Regions from separate parts of the Homo sapiens genome. Here regions 2 and 3 are each linked to region 1. Evidence: promoter capture Hi-C in 16 types of primary human blood cells and fetal thymus (Javierre and others, 2016). All regions are on one chromosome and are shown on one strand. The core of a region is centred on a gene start or on the middle of the fragment in contact, and the rest is flanking DNA. Distances in the headings are between cores, read along the strand shown. Region 1 holds the start of DNAJC10 (DnaJ heat shock protein family (Hsp40) member C10). Region 2 has its middle 7.6 kb from the start of CWC22. Region 3 overlaps CWC22 (CWC22 spliceosome associated protein).

Region 1 (2,925 bases), core at 207-2,706:
CACCCGCCTCAGCCCCTCAAAGTTCTGCGATTACAAGCGTGAGCCACCACACCCGGCCCACCACCTCTTAAAGCATTTACCCTATTTGTCTAACATTCTCCTGTTCTTTCTCCAGTTTTGTATGCTTTGCATCCTCTCTCCAATAGCTGCCAGGATGATCTAAAATACAATCTCAGTCTCTTTTTTAAAAGCTTCCTCATCACCTAAGAGATAGAAATCTATGTCTTCATCTTGGTATAAAAACCTGTCTGTGATCTGGTCCCTGCTTCATCTTCCAGTTTTCTGTTTGTTTTTCAATTTACTTTAAGATTTTGTTACAGTGTGTAACAAAATGGTTACACACTGTGTCATAATGCTTAACATCATAGTCTCTGAAGCCAGGTTGCTTAGATGTGAATCCTAGCTCTCAAATATTTGCCTCAGTTTCCTCAAATGGGAAATAGATATAGGAGCCACTATCTTGTAAGATTATTTGGAGGACTAAATGAGTTACTACATGTGTGCTTAGACCAGTTCCTGAGACATATTAACTACTATTACATCAGGCTGCTTCTAATGTTTGCCTTTGTTCATTCTACTTCCTCTTCTTTCCTACCAAGTATTAGCTTAGCCATAGATCCTGTGTAGTTTTCCAAGTTTTTAGAAGCTGACACTTGATTTACTCCCCGAAACTGTTACCAATCACAACTTATTTCATGTTAGGGTTGATGTTATAAGCAGGTATCCTCTAGGCTCGGTTTTCTCTTTTAAATATAGAAAATGTAGTAAATATAACCACTTCAATTGTTATATTGCTGTGGGACAAAATGCAGTTCCTGTACCATAGCAGTAGGAGATCAAGGTAAGAGAGAACAACGATAACTCCCCAGTTTCTAGCTTGTATGACTCAGAATCCAGAAAATATTGTAGAAGTCTCAAATGCTTGTTGATACACACGCTTACACAAAATTGTAAATGTTTTAATTTCCTTCAAGTTTCCTACTGCCTCTTCAGTCCGCTAGCCTGATACTGCAATCAGTGTCGCTTCAGGCAACTTCTCCTTTCTCCGCCAAATTTCGCCTTTCGGTCTCACCCACCCATCACCCAGACAAATCCTCCAAAGCTCCGTCTTCCCTTTAAAAGACTCTCAGGGAACTCAACCCCAAAACCCACCCTCTGGGTTTCCCCGTCACCCTGGCAACGGAAGCAGGAAGAGGCGGGCTTCGCCATCCACCCTCCCCGCCCGCGGCAGGCGCCGGCCGCATTGGTGAGGGGGCGCGGGCTGCTTGGCCAGGGCAGTTCCCTCAGCTCCGGGTTGGAGCCGGAGCCGGAGCCGGATCCCGCGCACACCGCCACGTCAACCTAAACCTACACCGCCCTCTCCACCCCACCGCCGCAGCGCCCGCTGGGCCCGCAGCGGGTCTCCCCAGGCAGCGTCCTCCACGCCTTTCCCACAATGCTCCGCGCCAGGCCCCGCCCCGGCTCGCCGTGGAGACCGGCGCGTGAGGAACCTACCGGTACCGGCCGCGCGCTGGTAGTCGCCGGTGTGGCTGCACCTCACCAATCCCGTGCGCCGCGGCTGGGCCGTCGGAGAGTGCGTGTGCTTCTCTCCTGCACGCGGTGCTTGGGCTCGGCCAGGCGGGGTCCGCCGCCAGGGTTTGAGGATGGGGGAGTAGCTACAGGAAGCGACCCCGCGATGGCAAGGTGGGCATGGGCCCGGGGCTAGGGCTTTGCTGGAGCCGGTGGTGGCCTGGGCCCTCCGGTCAGGGAGGGGCGGAATGGCTGAGCGCCTGAACCTCCCTTCCTGTGCGCTCTTAAGACCTGGATATTGTGTTCTCGCTCCCCACCTTCCTCCTCCCTGTTATTCACACCACCCTTCCTCTGCCCAGCGATTCCCTCTCAGTTACTTACACTTTCTCCCTAAGTCCGACCTGAGACTTCAGACACCAGCAACACTTAACAGCCCTGTTCCCCCGTGTCTTCATCTTTACCCCTCTCCCCTCTCCCACTCTGCAGTGATGGCAATGCGAAAGCTTGCGCCTTGCATTTACCTGGCGCTTCCACCTGCCCGGTAGCTCGGGCCACGGGCAGTTCGGCCACACCCACGCTGAGAACAACCCCTGGGCGAGAAACATCTTATCCCAAAGTGTTGATTGAGACTATGCCCTCTCTTTTTCTGATGGTTGTTTTCTTGTTTGGATACTTGTTAATCTCTACATCATTATATTTTTCAAAGGTATATTTTTGTGGAATGAAAAGGAAGTATTAGAAATGAGCTGAAGACCATTCACAGGTAAAGAGAAAAATTTTTAAATATACATTTAGGATTAAATGAAAAACAGAAATGAGGTGCGAGGAGCGTTAGATTTTTCAAAGCATTACGATCTCTTTGGAACTAAAATATAGTGGTTGAAATGTGATATGATGAAGTAATGATTGTTTTTGCCCTGCAGAGAGTATGTCTAAATAACCGATTCCCTTCTCTTTTTGTGTTTTGTTTCTACTTACACCAAACATGAACTTTGCAATAAAATTACACTGGTAACTTACAATTGTTTTTCTACTATTTTTAAAAAATGGCCTCTACTTAAATTCAGTATAAGCACCTTCTGAGGAAACTCCGGGAAGAAGATCGACTGCTGTGTAGATTGTCTATTATAACAATATATTTCACTGTCATTTCTGGTAGGGTTATATGAGAAGTAAAAAACCCTATGTTTCCTTCTAGTCCCTCCCAAGGACATTTCCTACAAGTGAATTCTGCTGAAAATGAAAATTAGACAGCTTTAGGAGGTAAAGAAGTAGCTAAAAGGAAGAGGTATTACAGGCAACGCTATAACTGGGTAGAAAGAGGAAGCACCTGTAGCTCATTGCCACCTTTGTGTTCTGATGCTCGTCAGAGGTCTTTTCTCAGTGTATAAATTGCTGAGGGTGTGTGTGCAAGCT
Region 2 (3,027 bases), core at 134-2,633, 2.7 Mb before region 1:
ATGTTGGTGCCCCGCTTACTAGCAAATTCCTGATGACCTTGGGGAATGATGTGTCCTCATGGCCTCCTGTGGAAAATAATTTTTTCTAGTAGGCTTTCTGATCTCACATCCACTCCAGCATATCCGCTTTCCTGGTCCTCTTACTGCCTTCCTCCATTGTCCGCAATGACAATTTAGGCATTTCAGTTTTCCTCAGCATGGGCCATCACTTTCTCCAGGTGTCTAGAGGTACCCTAGCAGCAAATTTGCTCTACCTCCTCAGATCCTTTCCAGCGAGTTTAATCTTATATCCCAAGAGAGTGCCCCAATGTCAATAAATTCTTATTTATCTGGTATTATGTTCCAGTACTATTTACCAGTGAAGTATTTTAGCAGCTGGGCTACTATATTGTGCCAGGGACTAACTGTGCCCCATATGCCACCTGCAGTGGGCTCTTGTTTGTCATTCAGATAATGAGGGGTCCAGTGTCAAAGTCTCAACTTACCACTTGTTTTTTTTTTTTTGAATCATTCCTGGAATCACTGTATCAATTGGATCCTCTAAGAAGCAGATACTGAGATAGAAACAGGGGTGTCAAAAGTGTATTAGAAAGTAATACCTGTGAAAGGAAAAGACAGAAAGCAAGATTGAGCAGAAAAACTCAGCAGATCATGATGAAATCTGACAGGTCTTTGAAAGCCCAACAGAGAGGTCCAGAGTAAGGATTGCCTGTTAGAAGAGTCTTACATTGGGTGAAATTTTAGGCCATTTAATATAGTTTGGATGTTTGTCCCCTCCAAATGTCAGGTTTAAATGTGGTCCCCCTTCCCCGACCAAGGTTGGAGGTGGGGCCTGATGGGAGGTGTTTGGGTTATGGCAGCAGATCCCAAATGAATGCCTTAGTGCCCTCCCCACAGAAATGAGTGAGTTCTTGCTCTGTTAGTTCATGTGACAGCTGGTTGTTTAAAAAACAAAACAAAAAAAAAAGGAGTGTGCCCCCTCCTGCTCTCTTTTGCTCTCTCTCTTGCCATGTAACCCGCCTGCTCTCCCTTTGCTTTCTGCCATGAGTAAAAGCTTCCTGAGGCCTCACAAGAAGTCAAGAAGATGCCCGTCCCCTGCTTATACAGCCTGCAGAACTGTGAGCCAAATAAACTTCTTTTCTTTATAAATTATCCGGTTTCAGGTATTCCTTCATAGTGATATAAAACAGACTAACACATCATTATACCACATTCTTGCTTGATCTTTGGCTGGGGTGACCCCAAGAAGAGTATGACCCGGGCCCTGAGGCAGATCTGAAGGAGTTAACAGCTGGAGGCCACAAGTCTGAACATCGGAAGGGTGCATTTCTATGCCTGCCACAATAGGTATTAGCATAGGGAGATGCTAGAAGTAATTAGATATGTTTGGTATGCTCCATATTTTTAAACTAGCTCAACACTATTATAAGAGTTGCATGGGAAGAACTGTCAAATCAGAAGAGATACTCAGCCTCCCCTAGGTTCAGTTAATATAAACATTTCAGAGATTTTAGATTTTAAGGGAAGACTCTGGAGAGTTATCACTGCCCTCACTGTTTATATTAAGTTCTCACTTTATAGGAAGTGTTGATTAAACACTTATGAAATGCTAATGGAAAATTTTATTCTGACTCATTCTGATAGTATTGGTATTATAATAAATCGATCACAGCTATTCAGCCTAATTCTCAAGCAGATTTCTGTTTCCCTCTGAAGCTTGCCTAAAACAACAGGCTAGGCTTTGTTTCTCCAGAGAATATAATCTCAGAGCGCTGCAGAAAAGACTGTGCTAGGTACTCTGAACTATGGATATTTCAAAGAATAGTCTTGAGTATAATCTTCCAAGATAAGATTGCTTAGAAAACTTTCAGGCTGTACTAGTGGACAAAGTCAGGATTTCCAGAACCCCTTTCTGTTCAGAAGCAGTTATGCTTTATCAAATCCAACTGCTTGATCCAAGGCCCAGTGGACTAAGAATTAATTACAGCATACTTAAGCTAATGAGGGAAATTTTAATGTGGTTTATTCAGAATATTTTTGGCATTAATTTTATGGTCTATCTTTTCATAGATACATAACAGATTCTTTTTCTTCTGAAGCTATCTTAAATCCTCAATTAAGTAGACTCTTGGTGTTTTGGGGTTTGATTTTCACTGACATATAAGAATTGAGAAAATTATTTTTACAAGTCTCTTTACTTTTTCATAGCAATATAATTTTTGCATAGGATAAATAAGAATATGTCTTCATTTTTACCAGGGTATAATTGGACAAATCAATTTTGCAATAAGACTGTATTTGGAGTGTTACATTTGAAAATAATTCTCATTTAAGTATATACGAACAAGAGTTGACTTTATATGTGGAGACCAGCTCATAAATGACACCAGCTGTTGTCGTTACTGGGAAGGTCAGTAAGCTGAATAACGACCATTTCCTTGGAGACCAAGGCACCCAGGGACATTGAACTCATCAAAGAAGTCTCACTAATCCCTTTTCCTGTAAAGTTCAGATGCTACTTTGGAGAGGAGGCGGGAAAGGATGGATTGGACACGCTAGAAGCTTTACTGAAATACCTCAGCATCAGTTAGAGTTTTTGTTGTTGCTGTTCAGTGGGGAGGGCAGTACTTACCCTCAAGGGGGTGTTTGGAAATGTATAAGGTCAGTTAAGGTTGCCCCCATGCCAGGAGAGGCAGCTGCTGCCATTTTGTAGGGGAAGGAAGTAGGGTAAGGGAGAAAGTGTGCTGTTAAATCTTACAGTCCATTGGATTTAGGGAAATGGGTTAATAGATTTCTTTTCCTCCCGTTTGCACAACCCAGTGGGTGGAGCTCTTAAGGAAGATAGATTTGTTTAAACAAAATAAAGAATTACGTTTGTGTCCCAGATCCAATTTGTAATATGGCTGGTTCTGTTAGTTACAGGTATATTTAAAAGCACAATTAATCCAAATGCAATTATATCCATATTTTTTAAAGCTGGGAGTATAGATTCCTAGAGGGAACAAAACATACTCTTTAATTTTTTGT
Region 3 (3,131 bases), core at 423-2,922, 2.7 Mb before region 1:
TAAAATAGAAAATAAAAGGATTAAAAGATACAGAGAATGCAGAGAAAGCAACGTGCTTAGTAGCAAAATAACTGAATACAACTGGAAAAAAAAATTAATTTGAGTGTCAGAAAGGGTATAACAGATTATCTGGTCCAATTCCTTCTTTTAAAAGAGAACACTGAAAGCCAGATATCCTATTTCAATTATAATTATAATAATTAAATTATAATGCCAGCTAGACTTACAACTAGAAACCTACCATAAGGACACCCTGTTAAGTATTCCTTTCACTGGCACACACATACAAATAGTCTTGACATTATAAAGTGATACAGAGCGGCTGTCATTTAATGCAGATGGGGATGTATACGAATTACTAAGTCAAGAAATGTTTCTATTACAATGATTGGCATGGTGTCAAGGTTAGTAAAGGCAAACTTATCAATCTATAAAATATAACTACAATCTAAAGCACATCACTGCTTATGTACGAGGCTTACAGTTAAAGAGACAAATGTGTGTAACTTTACATAATACGCTTATTAACAGGCTCTTTCTTCAATTAGTTATTATTGCAGTTGTTTAGAAAGCTCAGCCTTGTTTTCAGCTGGCAAGTTGTCCCCCAATCTTTTCTTTATGTATCTTTTTAAAGTTTATCAGCACTTTGGGAGGCCGAGGTGGGTGGATCACAAGGTCAGGAGATTGACACCATCCTGGCAAACACAGTGAAACCCCGTCTCTACTGAAAAATTACAAAAAATTAGCCAGGCGTGGTGGCGGGCGCCTGTAGTCCCAGCTACTCCGGAGGCTGAGGTGGGAGAATGGCGTGAACCTGGGAGGCGGAGCTTGCAGTGAGCTGAGATCGTGCCACTGCACTCCAGCCTGGGCAACAGAGTGAGACTTCGTCTCAAACAAACAAACAAACAAAAAAAGATTACTCTGGGTCCTAAATCCTGATGCCCACAGACTAGTCTATCTAGGACCTTATTATGCCCACAACTATGACATCATTGTTTGAACTTAGTTTCAGAGTAACTTTTCCTACTCGATGCTATACCTTAGATAAATAATTGAGAAAATCCAGAATAAGTTACGTAAAACACTTCATAAAATCAGACTCTGTGATGGTAGCAGAGAGGAGAGGCATGCCCCTCTACCTTAAACAGTCTATTCTGATATCATGCAAGAGTTACCATCTTAATAAGCCTATGTTATCAAAAGTCAAATAAAAAACATGTTTCAAAGGCGAAAGAGAGGTTCGAGACTAGAGAGAATTACACTGTTTTCCTCTAAGAACTTAAATAATAAGGGTGTTTTGATTCCCAGGGCCACTGGGTAGTTTATGTAGCACTTCTGAACAAATTTTTTAAAACGGTAACTGAACTTCCACTTCTGAAATGGCTAGGAAGTTCCTACTGAACCTAATCCTTTCACAGGTAACAACCATAAACTCTTGACAAAATATACAACAACCACCTGAAGGCACTGGAGAATGAACAAAAGCAGGCTGAGTCTAGAGGAGAGTAGATGCCTTGAGAAAGGAGCAACATGAGTGAGTTATCCCATTTAATATAGCTTTAGTCTGAGGGCAAGCTGCAGTCTGTACCACGCAAGGGTGGCTAAAACTGATGAAAAGCTGCAGCCATTCTCATTTGAAGAACAAGAGGACAGAGTCTGAGGCAACCACAACTGCTGGAAACTGAGGGGGAATCCAGGAGGGGAGAGAGTCAGTGGAGGGGAACCCCATATGCTGGGTATAAATTGTTCCCACATCTCTGACTACCTCTGAACCAACACATGTACAAGACAGATTCCTGCCAAGAACTGAACTAAGATTTGAACTGCTGCTCAAGAGACTAGAGTTTGCAATTTAAGTCCAACCAAGTTAACTGCCTAAAAAGTCACCACTCCTTAGAGGAATGTAAGGAAACCAAAATCTCTATAACATAAAAATAATATCCAGGAGACAATTAAAAATAACATTTAAAAAATGTGGCCCAATCTTAAGGAAAAAGACAATCAAAACAGATCAATGCTGAGATGATCCAGATCCTGGAATTAGTATATAAGGTTTTTAAAGCATGGTTTTTAAAACATATGGAACGATGCAAAGAAAAATATGCCTGGGAAATTTCAGCCAAGAGAAACGATAAAATAGAACCAAACAGAAATTCTAAAACTGAAAAATATATGAAATAAAAAATTCACTGAATACGCTTAACAGTAGAATGGTTAATAGTTAAAGCCAAAGATAAAGAGAAAAATCCTGAAAGCAGAAAAGAAAAAAACAACATATTATATACAAGGAAATAACAATTCAAATTACTGTTGACTTCTCATCAGAAACTAAATAGACCATGTTCTCATTTACATGCAGAAGCTAAAAAAGTGGATCTCATGAAGATAAAGCAGACTGGCGGTTATCAGAGGCCAGAAAGGGGAGTGGGGTGTGGAGGATGAAGGAAAAAAAAGGAGTATAAATGTATTTATTACCACTGAACTGTACACTTAAACACGGTAAAGATGGTAAATTACATCTCTATATATTTTATATCAAAATTTTTGAAAAAGAAACTAGAGAGACTTGAAAATAGTGAAACAATTTTTAAAAGTGTTAAAAGATAAAAAAAAAAGTTAACGTAGAATTCCAGCAAAAACAATCTTTAAAGGAAGACAAAATGAAGACATTTACTGATTAAACAAAAAACAACAACTAAGAGAAAGAAACTAAGAGAATTTATCACCAGCAGACCTGCACTACAAAAAATGCTAAAATAAGTTCTTCAAGCTAAAGGGAAATGATGCTAGATGGAAACTGTTTTTCAGAAAGAAATGAAGAATACTGTAAATGATAACTTTCTCAGGAAATACAAGATACTGTTTTATTTTAATTTATCTAAAATACATATGACTCTTTACAGCAAAAATTATGTCTTGAGGGGTTATAATATATGTAGCCAGAGTATATATATGTATAGTATATAGAACTAGCGACCAAAATGGATCTACACTATGCAAGGTTTTCTACATCTTTCGTAAGGTGATACAATATGGACTCTAAGTAGCACATGAAAAGTTAAGGATATATATATACTGTTCCTTAGAGTAATGACTAAAAAAAAAAAGTACAAAATGTAGCTTAAAAGGCT

Evidence for each region. Contacts are between HindIII fragments. The CHiCAGO score rates a contact against its expected background, and 5 or more counts as called.
Region 2: a contact is called between a fragment that was not itself captured here and the fragment with the promoter of DNAJC10 in region 1, in 1 of 17 cell types (non-activated CD4 T cells). The highest score is 8.2, in non-activated CD4 T cells.
Region 3: a contact is called between a fragment that was not itself captured here and the fragment with the promoter of DNAJC10 in region 1, in 1 of 17 cell types (naive B cells). The highest score is 5.2, in naive B cells.

Annotation. Positions count from the first base shown.
Region 1 is chr2:182,714,801-182,717,725 of GRCh38, forward strand. DNAJC10 (DnaJ heat shock protein family (Hsp40) member C10) reads left to right here and starts at 1,457. Exons shown (of 24, transcript NM_018981.4): 1 at 1,457-1,683; 2 at 2,216-2,272. It also overlaps a transcript of PDE1A not described here. RefSeq lists enhancers at 940-1,089, 1,110-1,179, 1,524-2,128 and a silencer at 1,690-1,849. The HindIII fragment of the contact is 1,821 bases long and covers 190-2,010 here.
Region 2 is chr2:180,013,378-180,016,404 of GRCh38, forward strand. No RefSeq gene overlaps it. Among named protein-coding and RNA genes, the nearest start is that of CWC22, 7.6 kb to the left of the region's middle. The HindIII fragment of the contact is 662 bases long and covers 1,053-1,714 here.
Region 3 is chr2:179,994,227-179,997,357 of GRCh38, forward strand. All of the region lies in intron 1 of CWC22 (CWC22 spliceosome associated protein), which reads right to left. Among named protein-coding and RNA genes, the nearest start is that of CWC22, 12 kb to the right of the region's middle. The HindIII fragment of the contact is 3,802 bases long and covers 1-3,131 here.